2 separate regions of the Homo sapiens genome follow, and region 1 is linked to region 2. The links are contacts of gene promoters, found by promoter capture Hi-C in human tissues and cell types (Jung and others, 2019). All regions are on one chromosome and are shown on one strand. Each heading gives the region's core, a stretch centred on a gene start or on the middle of the fragment in contact. The rest is flanking DNA. Distances are from core to core; before and after follow the strand shown. Region 1 holds the start of LOC124904670 (a long non-coding RNA gene). Region 2 holds the start of ZNF100 (zinc finger protein 100).

Evidence for each region. The method cuts DNA at HindIII sites, captures the fragments that hold promoters and counts their contacts. A contact is called where the count stands out against the background at its distance.
Region 1: a fragment that was not itself captured here is called in contact with the fragment with the promoter of ZNF100 in region 2 in 2 of the 25 tissues and cell types used here (aorta and bladder).

Annotation. Positions count from the first base shown.
Region 1 is chr19:21,565,326-21,570,208 of GRCh38, reverse strand. LOC124904670 (a long non-coding RNA gene) reads left to right here and starts at 953. Exons shown (of 2, transcript XR_007067182.1): 1 at 953-4,380. LOC101929007 (a long non-coding RNA gene) reads left to right here. Exons shown (of 4, transcript XR_007067176.1): 4 at 1-307. The HindIII fragment of the contact is 5,586 bases long and covers 1-4,787 here.
Region 2 is chr19:21,764,535-21,769,664 of GRCh38, reverse strand. It overlaps ZNF100 (zinc finger protein 100), which reads left to right and starts at 2,086. Exons shown (of 5, transcript NM_173531.4): 1 at 2,086-2,238; 2 at 3,879-3,971. The coding sequence starts at 2,236. RefSeq lists a silencer at 1,922-2,099. The HindIII fragment of the contact is 21,319 bases long and covers 1-5,130 here.

The sequences.
Region 1 (4,883 bases), core at 745-3,244, 200 kb after region 2:
ATGTGACAGGTATTGACCATGTGTGACTCCTGGGAGCCTGGAATGTGGCTGGTCTGAGCTGCAATTTGCAAGAAAGGTAAAATGCAGAGTTAGTTTCAAAGATTTAGTTCCATAAATATAAAAATATACAACATATAGATAAAAATATCTATATATAATATGGATAAAAATACATAGCATAATGCAATATATAGATACATAATTATGTTATATATAAATATATATCTCATTCATAATTATACATTGCTCACATATTAAAATAATATTTTGGATATATTGCTTTAATTAAATTGTTACAACAGACGGATGCAGTGTCTCACGCTTGTAATCTCAACACTTTGGGAGGCCGAGGTGGGCGTATCACGAGGTCAGGAGATCGAGCCATCCTGGCTAACACGGTGAAACGTGTCTCTACGAAAAATACAAAAAATTAGCCAGGCATGGTGGCAGGCGCCTGTAGTCCCAGCTACTTAGGGGACTGAAGCAGGAGAATGGCGTGAACTCGGGAGGCGGAGCTTTCAGTCAGCCGAGATCGCGTCACTGCACTCCAGCCTGGTCAACAGAGCGACTCCGTCTCAAAAAACAAAAACAAAGACAAAAAATCTCATGCTGCCTTCTCAAAGCCAGGAAGGTTATAAAACCTGAAATTTCAAAATCATTATTATTATATTCTTTTCATTTGTGAATAGCCATACAGTATAATATTTATAAATGCATATAACCTTATACACAAGATTACATGCAAACACCCTCTAGGGTGGGCCTGGCTCAGCTCAGGGACGAAGCCCTTTCTGAGCGGGCGGCAGCTTAGGCAGTCACTCTTTCTTCATTCAGCCTAGCGTTTGGTCACATCTTCTGTCAATCACGATGTGAGGAGGCGGGGATTTAAGCGTTATCCAATCAGCAACACTGGGCTGGAAACCCTCCAATCAGCCACGCAGCTGGAGCGGGCAAGACAGCTTCCGGAATATGGGGGCCTTTGTCTCCGGCTGCAGCTGGAGTTCTACGTCTAGTCTTCAGAGGCCCAGTCTCCGTGACTTTGTGACCTGCAGGTATTGGGAGATCCACAGCTAAGATGCCAGGACCCCCTGGAAGCCTAGAAATGGTGAGAGTGCCGGGTCCGACATCCTGAGAAAAGGGAAGGAGTTGATTGGAACTGGTGGCAAGTGGCTGTGGTGGGACTCGGGTCTCCCGTCAGTCAGCTCCACAGTCTGCGCCCCGAGTTCTCCTTGGCCAACTCAGCCTCAGTCCTCTTCAGCCATAGCATGGTGGCTGCGCTGACAGCAGGACCCTGGGCTGAAGGTGTGGGTTGCCCCTCCACACCTGTGGGTGTTTCTCGTTAGGTGGAAGGAGAGACTTGGAAAAGAGAAAGACACAGAGACAAAGTATAGAGAAAGAAATAAGGGGACCCAGGGAACCAGCGTTCAGCATATGGAGGATTCCACCAGCCTCTGAGTTCCCTTAGTAGTTATTGATCATTCATGGGTGTTTCTCCAAGAGGGGGATGTGTCAGGGTCACAAGACAATAGTGGGGAGAGGGTCAGCAGACAAACACATGAACAAAGGTCTTTGCATCATAGACAAGGTAAAGAATCAAGTGCTGTGCTTTTAGATGTGCATACACATAAACATCTCAATGCTTTACAAAGCAGTATTGCTGCCCACATGTCCCACCTCCAGCCCTAAGGTGGTTTTTTCCTATCTCAGTCGATGGAACGTACAATCAGGTTTTATACCGAGACATTCCATTGCCCAGGGACAGGGAGGAGACAGATGCCTTCCTCTTGTCTCAACTGCAAGAGGCATGCCTTCCTCTTATACTAATCCTCCTCAGCACAGACCCTTCATGGGTGTCGGGCTGGGGGGCGGTCAGGTCTTTCCCTTCCCACGAGGCCATATTTCAGACTATCACATGGGGAGAAACCTTGGACAATACCTGGCTTTCCTAGGCAGAGGTCCCTGCGGCCTTCCGCAGTTTTTGTGTCCCTGAGTACTTGAGATTAGGGAGTGGTGATGACTCTTAAGGAGCGTGCTGCCTTCAAGCATCTGTTTAACAAAGCACATCTTGCACAACCCTTAATCCATTTAACCCTGAGTTTGACACAGCACATGTTCCAGAGAGCACAGGGTTGGGGGTAAGATTATAGATTAACAGCATCTCAAGGCAGAAGAATTTGTCTTAGTACAAAACAAAATGGAGTCTCCTATGTCTGTCTACTTTCTACACAGACACAGTAACAATCTGATCTCTCTTGCTTTTCCCCACACTGGGCGTCCTGTCTGCACAGTGACCCAGTGATGGTCCCCTGGCCTGGAGGCCTCTCTGGGCAGCTCTGCAGCCGCAGCGCCTTGTCTCTGGCCAATTGTGCAGGGACCATGGGAGGGTAGTCAGGGGAGAATCCCGACTCGGGTGAGGGTTCATGAATGGGAAGAGTTTTGGTCGGTGGGGTTCCTAGTCCCTCTTTTCATCTATTAAAAATTTATGGAGTCACCGCAAAAAGATTAAAGAATTTAATCAAAGAGTGGCTCAAAAATTGTAGAGTACCCAGCTATGGGTTTTAGTTTGTGGTTCATGGGAGGAACTTGAAGGAAAGACTTTTATAAGGTCCATGATTAAAAAAAAAAAAACAAATTCAATAATCGGTTAGGTACAGTTACCTACTTTTTTTTGTTTTTTTTTTTGAGACAGTTTTGCTCTGTCACCCAGGCTGAAGTGCAGTGGCGCGATCTCAGCTCACTGCAACCTCTCGGTGTCAAGCGATTCTCCTGCCTCAACCTCCCGAGCAGCTGGGACTACAGGGAGTCACGTACTTTCTTAATTTCCACTTTGAGTGTGTAAATTTTCTGGTTATGTAATCAGAGCTTAATTGGCCATTTATAGTTAGTTGGTTAAGCTTAAATTTTGTTTTCCCCAATGCAATTTACAAAAATTTACAAAAAAAAAAAATATATGTTTGAGGATACACACTTCACAAGAGACTGATTTTTTTTTTCCCCTGAATTTTTTAAATGTGTCCCAAGTGCGGTCTCAAGTCTAGCCCTCATCCCCCATTCCTCCAGCCTAACTCAGGCTTGAAGTAAAATACTAAATTTCCAGTTCCTTCTGACAATCCCAAATGCCAGCCTCGTTTCCCTAGTTCACATTGTCATCTATTTGTCCTTTAGTGTATATTTTCAATACTGTATTTTTTTTTACAAACCACTGGATGGCACATTTTAAAAGATTCATTTTCTGTTTGTAAATATTTCCCATGAGAAGAAAGCAAAGAATAACCCCTGACACTGTGTTGTGTAAAATCTCTGTGCCTCTTTTCCTTTTACCTTCCCTAGGCAGAGATCTTACCAGAATGCTTTGGGGTAAAGGTTTTTTTTTGGCGGGGGGAAGCTTTATTGGGTGATGTGTCCTCAACCACCCTTTAGTTTTTTCTTGGTCATCGGTTTCAGTACTGTCTGTGAATAAACCATTATATCAGCCATGGCTATGTCTGCTAGAGTGTCTAGGGAATCTCAGGTCCTGGGTCATTTTCTTTCATAGGACAGCCTGAGGTATGGAGTGTAGCCTCTCAAGGAAGCAGATGGATGCACTGGGGCTGAGAGAAATCTCCTGGTGTGCTCTTCCTTTAAAAAAGTAACCCCTTGAGACATTAACATTGTTTTCACCCAACCCAGCTTTCATATCTTGGTGACACATTGCTGGTCAGCCAATCAGAGGCTGGTATTAAGGGGAAAACAGAAATAATTTCTGTCCCCTGAATTCTCTAAGATTTGTGAAAGAAAAAATAGTATCCCCCCTAAAAAAAAAACAAAAGAAAACCTGACCCCAGAGAGATGCTGCAAAAATTTCCGAAAGTAAAACCTGGGCCACTCACTGGAACATAGTGCAGTGTCTCCTGAGAGGTTAGTCATTGAGCAGTTAAGTGAGCAGGCTGGGGTGGGAGAATCTCTCACGTGATTGGATGACCTGACTTGACACATAAGTCAGACACATCTGTTTTTTAATCATCACTGCTACACCCTGGGTTCGTCACCTTGAAAAGATTTGTTCACTTATATTGATTTCAATTTCTTAAACTGTAAATTGCATTTTATTAGTAGAGCTTGAAAGGTTCAAAAACATTTACAAAGGGCATAAAAGTGGTGGGTTTCAAAAAATATTAATATCTAATCATATATTTCGTATGTTAAAAATTCTTACTTACCTTTTTCTTTCCCAGAGAGAGTTTAGGAATTTTCTCAGGTGTGTTTTCTGTAGGTGATTTCAAACAGAATTCCAAGGCTCAGCTTTTAGAATGCTACCAAGGAAAATAATAGGGAAAATCTCCTTCGATTTTGGCTGTAGAAAATGAATACATTTCCACGAGGAAATATTGTAGATAATTGGTGAGTTACATAAATTTATAAAACATTAGTTCCTCTTTCTGCAGGGTAAATTTCTGAGAGTGAATATCTCTGTTCTGTATCCTGTTATCTTGATTTCTGAGTTTCATACTAAATTTCATGAGATGAAACTTGGTACCTCCTAGAAGTTTTTCCCTATGACTAATTGTTTACTACATTATTTTTAATAGAAATAATACAATAATAAATTTATTATCTGAAAGAAATAGATACTTTTGCTGTTCTTATTGAGGTATAAAATGTAGGCCAGGTGCGATGGCTCATGCCTGTAATCCCAGCACTTTGAGAGGTCAAGGCGGGCAGATCACGAGGTCAGGAGTTCGAGACCAGCCTGGCCAACATAGTGAAACCCGTCTCTACGTAAAATACAAAGTTAGCCAAGTGTGGTGGCATGCACCTGTAGTCCCAGCTACTCAGGAGGCTGAGGAGGCAGGACAATCACTTGAACCCAGGAGGCAGAGTTTGCATTGAGCCAAGACTGTGCC
Region 2 (5,130 bases), core at 837-3,336:
CCCATATCAGCCTCCCAAAGTACTAAAAATACAGGTGAGAGCCACCGTGTGCTTCTGCAATTTTTGTGAGGATTATTCCCAAATGAGCACAAATCTAAAAGGAATCTGACTTCTACTATGGAAGTGTCACTCTCCAGGATTTCAATAGTCTAGGGCAGGGCAGCTACTTTAGTAGTGTCATCTATGGAGGTGCATGGGCTTTGGAGTCAGATAAAGTTGATCCTGAGTCTCAGCCCAGCCACTTAGTAGCCGTAGGACTTTGCACAAGTTTCCTGATGTGGAAGAGTTCTATATACCACATATGCAAAAAAGGTAGAATGATACTGATTGCAAAATGACATTTTTTCATCCCTCTTGTATCTTTGCCCATAACCAGGTGCTTTTACAGCTGTTTCCATCAAGATCTGGAATCTGTTTTCAAAGCCCTATATCTGGCTGACCTTATTTGCTCAGGTCAACAGAAACCTGTGAACATGACAGTGGGCCAGTTTGGGGCCCAGGCTCAAATGGTATTGACTGCTTCTCTTTTTCTTTTAGAATGCTGCCATCTCCATGAATAATGCCCATGTTAGCCAGCTGGAAAATAAGATACCATGAAGAGGAGAAGCAAGGTGCCCCTGTTGACAGACCCAGGAGCAGAAGCTCACCCCCAGATGCACAGCTGTCTAGTCAAAAAGCAGGTGATGATACATGTCTGAAGGAGCTCAGCTGAGACCAGAAGAATGGCCCCACTCAGCTCGGCCTAAATGGCCAACCATTTCAATTATAAACTAATAAGTTTTGGATGATTTGTTATGCCTCAATAGCTAACTAATACATGCACCCAGTACAGATAAGTTGCCAGGATTCAGTGACAGGTTGACTAAGAGTTGGCTTCTAACAGTGGACACCCTCTAGGTACTGATTTCTTCCCCTGATTTAAAGTTCGATGTTTTGTAAGAGAATTTTGGGTAATGCAGAAATACCTGTAGACATGTATGCGTGTGATTGGTGCTTAGACTCACATAGTCCCCCACACCACAGGAGAAAACAGATAAACACAGCCTGATTGTTAGGGCCAAGACCATATAGCAAACTATGTTTGTTTTTAATCTATTTTCTCCATCTCTAAATACTGGAGTTCAAGTGTGTGGACAGAACTGAAGACATAGTTGTTTTTTCTCCTGTGGCCCCATCATCCTTTGTTCACTATCTGGTCTCTAAAAGAAAGGTGGGCAACAGGTGGCCAGCAGTTGTTTATTACCTGTGGCTATTTTATTCCTACTGCCCTCAGCTCTTTCTATGGGAACTATCTGGTCCACCCTAGGAACCAAAGAGAGATGTTTGTAGGGAGAGTCTCTTCTTTCACTCTCGCAGGAAAGAGATGTTCAGGCCCTTCACACCGCTGACATCAGAGCTGCACTTCAATGTGACAGCTATTGTCCATGTGTGGCTACTGGGTTCCCACAATGTGCCTGGTCTGAAATGCGATATGCTAGAAAGGTAAAATACAAAGTCAGCTTCAAAGATTTAGTTCCAAATATTTATATATTTTATCAATAATTACATATTTCTCACACATTAAAATGATAATATTTTGAATATAATGGGTGAATTACATTGTTAACAATCAGTTCAACTTGTTTCTTTTTAAAGTTTGGCTACTAGAAAATTTCAAATCCACATGTGGCTGACATTCATTTTAGATGATTTTCTCTTTTCTAAAATCTCAGGCTGCCTGCTCAAAGGGCCAGAAGCCAGGAAGGTCATAAAAGCTGAAATTTTAAAATAATTGTTATATTCTTTTCACTTGTGTATAGCTATATAATGTATTATTTATTTATACATATGACCTTATACACAAATTTAAAGGCAAATACTCTCTGGGATGGGCCTAGCTCAGCTGAGGGAGGAAGCCCTGTCAGAAGAGGGGGCAGTCTAGGCTGTCACTCTTTCTTCATTGAACCCGCATCTGATCACATCTTCTGTCACTCAAAGCCTGACAGGGCGGGGATTTAAGCATTATCCAACCAGGGACGCTGGGCTGGAAACCGTCCAATCAGGCATGCAGCTGGAGCGGACTGGACGGCTTCCGGGTTTGGCGGGGTCTTTGTCTCTCGCTGTAGCCGGAGCTCCAGGTTTTGCTCTCACTTCTCTGTGTCTTCTGCTCCTAGGGGCCTAGCCTGTGTGGCCCTCTGACCTGCAGATATTGGGAGATCCACAGCTAAGACGCCAGGACCCCCTAGAAGCCTAGAAATGGTGAGAGTGCCCGGTCCGACATCCCGAGAGACGGCGAAAGGGCTGGTTGGAACTGGTGGGAAGTAGCTGTGGCGGGACTCAGGCCTCTCCGCAGTCAGCTTCACAATCTGCGCCTTGCCCAGCTCGGCCTCCGTCCCCTTCGGCCATAAGATGGCGGCTGCGCTGACAGCCAGGACCCCAGGCGTCCTTTCTCTTCCCTGCGTAGTGACTGTGCCTTGGCCTGGAGCCCTCTCTTGGCAGCTCTGCACCCGCAGCGCCGCGTCTCTCTCAGATTGTGCAGGGACCACGGGAGGGTCGTCAGGGGAAAATCCTGACTCGGGGTGCGGGTTCATGAATGGGAAGATCTTTGGTCCGTGGCTTTCCCAGTTCCTCTTTTCTCCTATTAAAAATGTATGGGAGTCACTGCACAAATATTAACGATTTTTTTGTTTGTTTGAGACGGAGTCGCTCTGTCGCCCAGGCTAGGGTTTAGTGGCGCGATCTCCCCTCACTGCAACCTCCGCCTCCCGGGTTCTGGAGATTCTCCTGGCTCAGCCTCCCGAGTAACTGGGATTACAGGCGCCTGTCACTGGGCCGGCCTTATTTTTTTGTATTTTTAGTTGGGACGGGGTTTCACCTCGTTGGCCAGGCTGGTCTTGAACTCCTGACCTCGTGATCCGCCCGCCTTGGCCTCCTAAAGTGCTGGGATTACAGGCGTGAGCCACCGCGCCTGGCCTAAAGAATTTAATCAAACAGTGATTCAAGAATCATAGAGTATCCAGCTATGGTTTGTAGTTTGTTGTCTATGGGAGAGGCTTGAAGGAAAGTCATTTATAAAATGTATGATGAAGAAAACTAAATTTAGTAATTGGTTACAGTAACGTAGTTTCTTGATTTGTACAATACAGGTGAAGATTTCCTGGTTGTGTAATCAGAGGTTAATTAACAGTTTATAGTTGTTTAAGCCTACATTTTCTCTGAATGTAGTAATTAAAAAAAAAATGCACCTGAGTTAGATTTTTTTTTTTTTTAAGTAGGAACCCAGGGACTAGAGACACCTCAGTGGAATTGCCTGTCTCTTAATTATTTTCACACTCCACGGGGAACTGATTTTCTGCTGCATTTTTCACCTGTGTCCCAAGCAGGTTGTTAAGTCTAACCCCCGTCCCCCATTTCTCCAGCCTCACTCTGGCTTGCAGTAAGATACTAAATTTCCAATTTCTTCTGGCGTTCCCAAATGTCAACTTTTCCTTCCTAATTCACATTATCACCTATTTGTCCTTTAGTGTACTTGTTTATACCATATTTTAATTAATTGTTTTTGACAAAGCATTAAATGGCGCTTTTAAGAAGATGTGTTATCCGCTTGTAAATATTTCCCACGAAAAGGAAACAAAGACTAATCCTCTGACACTGTATTGTAGAAAATCTCTGTGTCTCTTTTCCTTTTACCTTCTCTAGGCACAGAGATTTATCAGAATGTTTTTGGGTCAAGGTTTTGATTTGGAAAAATCTATGGGGTGATGTGTCCTCAGCCACCCTTTAGTTTTTTCCTGGTCCTGGGTTTCAGTACTATCTGTGGATAAACCGAGATATCCGCCATGGTTCTGTCAGCTAAAGTGCCTAGTGAATGTCAGCTTCTGGTTTATTTTCTCCCGTAGGATGACCCGAGGTATGGAATGTGTCCTCTCAAGGGAGCAAGTGGATGCCCTGGGGCTGAGAGGAGTCTTCTGGTGCAGTCTTATTTTGAAAAGGTAACCCCTTGAGACATTAAAATTGTCTTCACCCAACCCAGCTTTCATTTCTTGGAGACACGTTGCTGGTCAGCCAATCAGATGCTGGTATTGAGGGGAAACACAAAAATAATTTCTGCTCCCTGGATCATCTAAGGGGGGCAGAAAAATAGTGAAATAAATATAAAGAAAAATATTGGAAAAAAAAGTGAAAATTTTGTTACCAAAAAGTATTCCAAAAGACAAACAACAACAGAACTGACCCCAGTGAGATGGTGTAAGAGCTTGCAAAGTAAAATGCACCTGGGGCAGTCACTGGGGCATAATGCAGTGTCTTCTGAGTGGGTGGTTCTTGAGCACATAAGTGAGCAGGAGTGGGTGGAAGAATCTCTCCAGTGATTGAATGACCTGACTTGAAACATGAGTCAGACACATCTGTTATTTAATCAGCACTGCCACTACCTGGGTTTGTCACCTTGAAGATATTTGTCACTTATTTTGACCTCAGTTTTTTAGCTGTAAATTGCATTATATTAGTAGGGCTTGAAAGGTAGAAAAATATTTACAAAGGTCATGAAAGAGGTGGGTTTCAGAAAAAAATGTCTGATCATGTATTTCATTTGTCAAAAATTTGTTAAAAATTCTCATTTACTGTTTTTCCCAGAGTGAGTTAGGAATTTTCTCAGGTGTGTTTTTTTTATGGCTGAGTGATTTCAAACAGAATTTCAAGGCTTAGCTTTTAGAATGCTCCCAGGCAAAATCTCTCAATTTTAGTTTTGGAAAATGAATACATTTCCACAAGAAAATGTGGTGGATAATTGGTGAGTTACATAGATTCATTAAAACATCAGTTTCTTTTTTTTCAGGGTAAATTTGTGACAGTGAATATCTGTGTTCAGATCCTGTTACATTGATTTTTGAGTTTTATGCTAAATTTTATGAGATGAAACTCGGTACTGTTTAGAAGTGCTCCCATATGACTCATTGTTTACAAAATAATTTTAAATGGAATTAATAAAGTAATACGTTTATTGTCTGAAAGAAATAGATACTTTTGCTTTTTTTTTTTTTTCCCCACACGGAGTCTGGTTCTGTCACCCAGGCTGGAGGGCAATGGCACCATCTTGGCTCACTGCAACCTCCGCCTCCCGGGTTCAAGTGATTCTCCTGCCTCAGCCTC